Linked DNA regions of Homo sapiens: region 2 is linked to region 1. The links are contacts of gene promoters, found by promoter capture Hi-C in blood cells and fetal thymus (Javierre and others, 2016). All regions are on one chromosome and are shown on one strand. The core of a region is centred on a gene start or on the middle of the fragment in contact, and the rest is flanking DNA. Distances in the headings are between cores, read along the strand shown.

The links. Contacts are between HindIII fragments. The CHiCAGO score rates a contact against its expected background, and 5 or more counts as called.
Region 2: the fragment with the promoter of TMEM105 here is called in contact with a fragment that was not itself captured in region 1 in 2 of 17 cell types (endothelial precursors and monocytes); the score reaches 6.1 in endothelial precursors.

The regions. Positions count from the first base shown.
Region 1 is chr17:81,514,025-81,517,878 of GRCh38, reverse strand. It overlaps a transcript of FSCN2 not described here. Among named protein-coding and RNA genes, the nearest start is that of ACTG1, 3.2 kb to the right of the region's middle. RefSeq lists enhancers at 1-332, 465-704, 1,425-1,474, 1,583-2,208, 2,209-2,832 and 1 more and silencers at 2,595-2,644, 2,715-3,434, 3,655-3,844. The HindIII fragment of the contact is 1,936 bases long and covers 1,459-3,394 here.
Region 2 is chr17:81,329,231-81,333,267 of GRCh38, reverse strand. TMEM105 (TMEM105 long non-coding RNA) reads left to right here and starts at 2,594. Exons shown (of 3, transcript NR_165247.1): 1 at 2,594-3,124. RefSeq lists enhancers at 827-1,397, 1,398-1,968, 3,112-3,681, 3,682-4,037. The HindIII fragment of the contact is 4,997 bases long and covers 1-3,246 here.

The DNA of each region.
Region 1 (3,854 bases), core at 1,177-3,676:
GTTTCTGGCTCCTCCCCTGCAATCTGTGACCGCAGCTAAGAACCACCCTGAGGGGAAACACAAACTTCAGGCCTCGCTGCCTCTGGGGAGGAAGGAGTGGGACTGGAGGGGGGGGGGGCGGCCGGAGCTCCTGGGGTGGGGTCCACAATGGCCAGGTGGAGAGCAGACCCTCCCCACTCCGTGCGGCTCTGGGAGGCCACAGGGGAATGAGGCCTGGGGAAAGGAGCCTTCTTCTCGGGCCCAGTGGAGGGTCACAAACGGGCCTGGGGCTATGCCCTTGGGAACAGAGGGAGGAGCAGGCACCCTGGTCTCAGGTCTCACACACGACACACAGAGGCACTGAGCACGTCTTACTCATCACCGAAAACTGAGCCCCTGGGTGTCAGGCAAGACGCCTGGGGGGTTTGCTGGGCCACCTGACGGCCTCCTGTCCCCAGACTTCCTGTCCACACGGGAGGGCAAGCAGCCTCAGAGCCCCTGATGGGCCACACATCTCACATCGCAGAGCCCTCTCCTCTTTTTTGACAGGAACTGGGGTACAGAGAGGTCACGTGGCAGGCACAGGGCTGAGCCGGGCCCAGAACCCAGGTGTCCGACTCCCAGCTCAGGGCTCTTCCAGGGGCCTCCTTGGTTCCTGCTCACAGCGGGGATGGGGAGCCTCAGGTAAACTGCAACAGGGATCCTGTCTCCAGAAGGCCTGGAGCAGCGGGGGTGGGGCGGGGCAGGGGAGTGGGGTTGAGGGACTCTCGGCCTGAGTGTCTGTGTGCATTCAAGCCCCTAACCCTCGTGTAGAGTGCCCACACCGCCCTCCAGAACCTTCTGACCTCCCAGAATGTGACCTTGTTTCTGGCTAATTACCCTGACCCAGGAGACTGCCTCAGTTTCCCTCCCTGTGAAAACTCCACAGTCTGGGACTCTCCTCCAGTGGTGAGAATTGGACAAAACATGCAGAGACCTGGTCTGGGGACCAGGTGAGAATTGGACAAAACATGCAGAGACCTGGTCTGGGGACCAGGTGAGAATTGGACAACACATGCAGAGACCTGGTCCTGGGACCAAACAAGCAGCACCTGGCCACTCACAGCCAGCTGCCCAGTGACTCCGCAGGGGTGGGGTGGGGGGCAGCCAGCTGAGCCTTCTGAGCTTCAGTCTGCGCAGTGGGGCAGGAGAACCAAGCCCCAAGCTGGGCACCAGCCAGGAGACAGAAGTGTGGGACCCTGGCCTTGTCCCTTGAGCCAAAACTCAGAGGCAGCCAGGCCGAGTTGCAGGAAACCAGCCTTGCCCACCGGGACCAGCCTTGGGACCACTGTTCCTGAAGAGGCAGAGCCCACTCCAGACCTGCCCAAGGGAGCCAGCCAGGCCCTGGAAAGAGCTTCAGGAAACAGGGCCATCACCTTGCATTTCATCTGTCCAAAAGGGTGTGGGAGAAGAGGGAGGTGGGCTGAGAGTAGGGAAGCTTTGCTTGCCTTGGATTCAAGTTAGCTTTTTATTATGGGAGAACTTTAAACTTACAGAAAAGTTGCAAAGACAGTGGGAAGGTTTCCCAATGCTCTATTCCCAGTGTCCCCTAACCTGGCATCTTACACGGTCATGGGACAACTGCCATAACTGAGAGATTAACCTTGATACTTACGGCCAAACTCAAGGCTGTGGGCTTTGCTAGTTCTTCCACCACTGTTCCTTTTTCTGTTCAGGGTCCATCGTTTCATTTAGTGGTGGAAGATGAGACACTCCAGGCTGGGTGAGGTGGCTCACGCCTGTAATCCCAGCACTTTGGAAGGCCTAGGCGAGTGGATCACTTAAGGTCAGGAGTTCAGGCCAGCCTGGCCAACATGGTGAAACCCTGTCTCCACCAAAAATGCAAAAATTAGCCAGGCATGGTGGTGCACGCCTGTAGTCTCAGCTACTCGGGAGGCTAAGGCCCGAGAATCGCTTGAACCCCGGAGACAGAGGTTGCAGCGAGCCAAGATCGCGCCACTGCGCTCCAGCCTGGGCGACAATGAGACTGTCTCAAAAATACAATAAAATAAAATATAAAGAAAAAGTAGACATTCCAGGCAGGTAGAGTGACAGAGGCAAAGGCTAGGGGTGGGGACCCATGCCCACGCCCCCATGTCTGTCTGACAAGTAGCCGGCCAGGTGGTTGGCGGTGGGGACTGGGGGGCCCTGTCAACTGGTGTGGAGGTGACCCAGAGTCCGGGGGCTGATCCGGTGCAGAGGGAGGAACAGGGCAAGGAGCTGGAGGTGGGGCAGTGCAGGCCGTGGAGGGCGCAGGCCCTGGGTTAAGCCTCAGCTCTGCCATACCTCCCTGGGCCACTGTTGTCGTATCCACTAAATGGGCCGAAACTAAAATAAGACATAACAAGGTCATGATAAAAAGCCATCAAAACCAGCACTGAACTAGAAAAGAAAAATCACATCGCTTCTCCAGGCCCCAAGTCTCCCTTCCTGAAATGTGAAGGACACACCCACCTCTGGCGGAAGTGCAGCTGCCGACTCTCCCGGCTCCGGAGGCCGCCCAGCTACCCCCAGCTCCATCCATGCGGTCCCCTCCCCAGGCCCAGCTGCCCGGCCCTCTCCGGCACTGGTTCCAGAAGGGTGGCGGCTGCCCTGCGCCACTGGCTTCCCAGAGCATATCCAGGACAGGCCCCGCGCGACCTTGGGCGAGGCCCCGCTGCTAAACAGAAAAATCACAGCGCGCGGTCCAGCCCCCTGCGCCCCGCGGGCTCCAGGCCTCGCCCTGCCCGCCCGCCCGCATCCCAGGGACAGGCAGACCCGCATCCCCGCCGCCGTCGGTCCCGGGACTCCCCAGGCTCCGAGGCCCCCCACGCCCGGCTCCCGCCCCGACCCCTCGGAGGCGCCGGGCCACTCCTACGCCCCGAGGCTGCCCGGCCGCCGCCCCTCTGTCCCGCGCGCCAATCGGCGGCCTCCTTGACTAAATAAGGCCAGGAGCGCCGGGCGGGCGCCCCCCGTCCGTTACTTCCGCCCCCCGCCCGCCGTGACTCAGGCCCGGCGGCGGGCGGGGATGGCGCTGCCCCGGGCCGGGCTTCCCGGCGGAGGCGGGCGGGGCTCCGGCGGCGCCGAAGTCGCCAAATATGGCCGCGCCACCGCCCCCCGCCGCGTACCTGGGCCACACCTTGACCCCTGCCGCGTGACGCGGCCGCGGAGGAGGAAGTCGCTCTCCACCCCCGGCCCGCGGCGGCGTCCCCTCCCCGCCCCTCCCCGCGGCTCAGGCCCTGCGGGTGGCGGGGAACCCGGGGGTCTCGAGGCGCCAGCCTCGCCCCCGCCCCCACGACCCTGGCGGCCTCGGGTCCGCAACGTGGGGAAGAAAGGTGGGGGACGGGGACGCGCGCCCGGGGCCGGCACCTCCCCGCACTTCCTAGACAAAGAAGCTTCGGAGGAGACCAGAGACCCGGAGGGGCAGGGTCCCCGGCCGGCCCGGAGCAGAACGTAGTGTGGGGTGAACGCAGGATGGAGGGGCTTGTGGCTATTCCCCACCCGCCTCGTGTCCCTCGGTGTGTGACGTCGCATCTTGGGACCCCCCAAGTGGAAGTCCTCACCCGGGGGTCGAGCAGGCTGTGTGGTTCTGCCCAGGGACGCGAGTCCGGGTGGGTCTGTTGGAGGCCCAGCCCCGGCTTCGCCACGGGAGGGAACATACCTGACAGCCTTGCCCGGGCCCCCGGAGATTCTGGGCCTGGGGGCGCTCAGCACCCCTGGGAGGCCTGGGGCACGGGGGCCTTAGGCACGGGTCTCGGCGTCCGGGCTGACTGCAGCCCGCAGGTGAGCTGGGCCGGCCGCCTTGCCCTGACTCGCTGTTGTCACTCCCAAACACGGGGTCGCGAGCTAACGTTGCA
Region 2 (4,037 bases), core at 1,345-3,844, 180 kb after region 1:
CTTGACCTGCACTGAGCACAGGGGAGTCGGATCCGGAGGCATTCTCGGAATCACCTCTCCGGATGCTCAGAAAAGGGCAATGTTTTTAAAAAGGCAAAAGGGTGCGGTGCGTGTTATAGATGAGAGGAGGCTAACGGGAGACCCTGGATAGGATCCTGAACGAGGCTTGGGGTGGGACTGCTCTGGCGGGCCGTGGAGCTGACTGGGAAGTTTACACACAGCAGGCGGGGCCACGGGGCCGTGCATCGTTCTGTGTGGCACTGCGTTTCCCCAGGCGTGCTGCTGGAGGCAGGCAGGTGTTCTTAGACATTTGATGCTACAGTATTTAGGGTGAAGTGTCAAGGTGTCTGCAACTGACACTCAAAAGATTCAGCAGTTTTACATAAAGGGGGAGCAAGAAGTAAGAGAGGAAGCCAAGGTGACACAATATTTTTTAAAAGGGCTTCTGGGTACAAATCAGTGTACGTACAGAAATACATTTTATTTGTGCAGATGTGCAGAGACACTTTCGGCTGGCATGGTGGTTCATGCCTGTAATTCTAGCACTTTGGGAAGCCAGGGCAGGAGGATTGCTTGAGCCCAGGCTGGACAACATAGTGAGACCCCATCTCTGCAAAAAACACAAAAATTAGCCAGGCGTGGTGGTGTGTGCCTGTAGACCCAGCTACTTGGGAAGCCGAGGATCGCTTGAGTCCAGGAGGTCGAAGCTGCAGTGAGCCTTATTCTCACCACTGCCCTGCAGCCTGGGCAACAGAGCAAGACTCTCTCAAATCAATCAATCAATAAATTTGACTGCAGGTGCCAGAAGTGGACTCTGACTAACTGAAGCCGGGAGCAGGTATTTGGTTGGAGCTTGCAGCAGGGAGGGCAGGGGGAAGGCGCTGTTCAGGCCCCAACAGCAGCGGCTCGGGAGTGGCCCCAGCACAAGCCCAGTGTCCCTCGGCTCAGCATTCAAATTCCAGGAAAAGAGTCCCGATGGTCCGGCTTGGTCTAGGGCTGTGGCCCGTGGCAGGTCCCCAAAACCACACCTGCCGCTCCAGTGCCCCCCAAGGCTGCATGACCTTCGTGTGGACAGGATCATGGAACACATGACCTCACCCAAGCCTCCCAACCATGCCGTGATCCAGCACTGTTAGAATCATCCCCGTTTCACAGAGCAGAGTTGAAGTGTTGGGTGTTTAAACGCTGTGCCCAGGGCTGTCCAGCCAGGGAGTGGAATCTGGTCCTGGCCCAGAAGGCAGCAGCCCCACCCAGGCCACCTGCTCCAGGTCCCCGGGCTCCACAGACTTTCACATCTACTGCAGAGGCGCAAGGACGTTCCCCAGCATCAAAGCCCTCAGACCCTGGTGCCAGCCACGTCGTCACAGAACTTGTAGACCAGAGGATGCCCTGCGGATAGAGGGCCTGCCCTGGGCCTGCGCCAGGCTGGGCATATTGCTGAGGTCCCTGCTCTGTGCTGGCAAAATCCAGACCTCAGGAGAGGGGCAGGCAGGCTCTGAGAGGTTGCGGCTGCCCAGGGCCTGCAGCTGGGAGGAGCGGAGACAGACCCCCCCTCCCCTGGGACACAGTTGCTCTGCACCACACAGCTCCGCTCCTGGCGTCCCCTGGCTTTGCCGGGGGCGGCCGACCCAGCTGGCCAGGCCCCCTCCCCCTGCCCCACAGGTGGCCCTGAGCTGCTGAGGATAAGGCATGCTGGGCGATCTCTGCTGATTAGAGTCGCCCTCCGCTGTGGGCTAGGGGCCCCTATTTTGCTCCTGAGATCCCAGTCGGCCCATAGAAGCCCTCACAGGCTCTCCCGGGGGTCCAAGGAGTCCCAGGAGGCCCCCGTTCACCCCGGGTTTGCCTTCTCCCTCCTGTAATTTGCTTTTCATATGCGTGAAGGGGAACTCAGCAGGAGCAGAAGATGATGTGGCCTCGTGGGAGCGTGGGAGAGCTGGGACGGGGTGGTGGGGAGGAGCGGGGACCCAGGGACAGGGGCTCTGGGTCCAACCACCAGGCCTTTTGCACTTCGTGCTCTCTGTAGCCTCAGCTTCCCCCGAGGGTCAGGAACTCCAGGCAGGGGCATGGGGCAGCTCAGAAACCTTCCTGAGCCCCTTCCCCTGGCAAGAGGCAAACCAAGCAGGTGAGGGCTGGGCCCTGTTCTCAGAGCTGGCATCCCAGCCCTGGCCAGATCCAGGCTGAGGGCGGCCCAGCCCCCTGTTCTGCCTGGTGCAGAGGACACGGCTTCCCTGGCCGGAGCCCCCGCCCCCTCCTCTCCTTTCTTGGCGTCTGCCCCTGGGCGTGCCCTACCATTAAGCCCTTGTTGGTTCCACAAGCTGGGGGCACCCCTTCCTCCCTTCCTCCGGGCAGCCATTGGCAATGGCTGGCGGCTCGGGACAGGGCCCGTATTCTCTGAAAATGATGGCTGGGCTGGAACCCGGGATCGATTCTCAGACCTGCGTCATGTGGAGTCCCGGATGCTTGTTACGAATTCGGACCCTGGCCTGTGCCTGCTCCCTGGTACCTCTGAACAGGGCTTTCTGCCCTGGGGGTGTGAAGAGGGCCAAGTCCACTCCCCGACTGGGGTCACGCCTGCCTCCTGTCAGGACTGTGAACACTGCGTCCCCATCAGCTCAAAGAATACGCATGGGGACAAGCCTGGGGGGCCGTCTGAGAGTCCCCCAACCCTGGATCCCCACGGCAGCCCCCACTGTTGGGTTTTTCAGTGGCTGGTGTGCCCTGGGCTGGTCACCTCTGCATTTTGCTCTGCTGGGAGTTTGCTCCTGGCCCTCCAACAGCGCCTCCTCTGTGAGGAGGAACTCCTGTTCCCGTGGCTCTGCTGGCTCTGGAGGCTGGAGTTCCCGTGCTGGGCCCTCCTGGGCGGGTTCTCTCTTGCTGCCGCCAGTACCCTGCCCCTCTCGTCCTCCTGGGTAGCCTGGGAGGAATGGCAGAAGAAAGCAGTGAAGCCAGGTAGCAGTAGCCCGGCCACCCCACCAGGCTCTGCTGTAGGCTGGGCTCTCAAGGCAGCTGCTCCAGGAGGGGCCCCCTAGGAAGGGACTGCCACACTCCTGGGAGCGTTCCTGGCCCCCTCCAGTGCAAATGACCCTGGGCCCCAAGGCTCCGAACACCCGCCCCTCTGCTCCAGGTAAGAGGGAGATGTGGGTGGTGCCTGGACTGTTGTGTGCTTAGGTGGGGGAGTGGAGCCTTCAGGTCTCAGGAACCCACAAATGCTTGTTGAGCTGATGAACCCTGCAGAGATGAGAAGCTTAGGCCCAGAGAGCTGATGCCACCTGCCTGGGGCCACAAAGTCCACTGGGCAGAGGAGGGTGGGAACCCCAGTCCTTGGCCCCACTGTCAAAGCGGGTGCTTCCCAGGGAGAGCAGAGCCTGGGGTCAGTGCGGAGGACACTGGATCCCCAGTTCCGGGCTGGGGAGAGGCAGCTGGTGTTTCAGTGCTGCAGAGAGGGCCAGGCCGGCCTCAGACACCCTCCCCGAGGCCTGTGTGGGGGTGGAGGGCGGCCACACCTGTCCCACTGCAGGCCCTGGGGTGGGGTTTCCTGTCTGTGCTGGAGCCCGGTCAGGTTTCTCACTTCGCCCGGGGCAGGGGTGCAGGGCAGATGGCCCAGCCAGTCATGAGTCACCAGCCCAGCCTGCCGGCCTGCCTGACAAACGGGAAAGACCCGGCGGGTAGGAGCTGGGCTGGGAGCATCCTAGCTGGGCCTGGGCCAGCCCCTTCCTGGGAGAGGAGGGAAGCTGCCTCAGGCCTCCGGGGAGAAGCTCCCACCTGGCCCGGACCCTCCTCCCTCCTCCCTCCTCTGGCGGGGTGAGTGGGCTGAGGGCCTGCTGGGCCCCTGCATGGTGGGAAAGTTTGGGGAGGGGAGGGGTTTCCAAGCCTCAGCCGTCCAGGCCTACGCATCCCAGATCTCGCTCGCTCCACAGCGCTGTGCCATGTCATGGGCTTCTTTTTTCCTGGTCCGAAGTGTTAGTATCTGCGAAATTGCAGGCTTGATGTGTTGGCTTTATTTTTCTAACACACACTAAAATAAATCATGCGTGTTT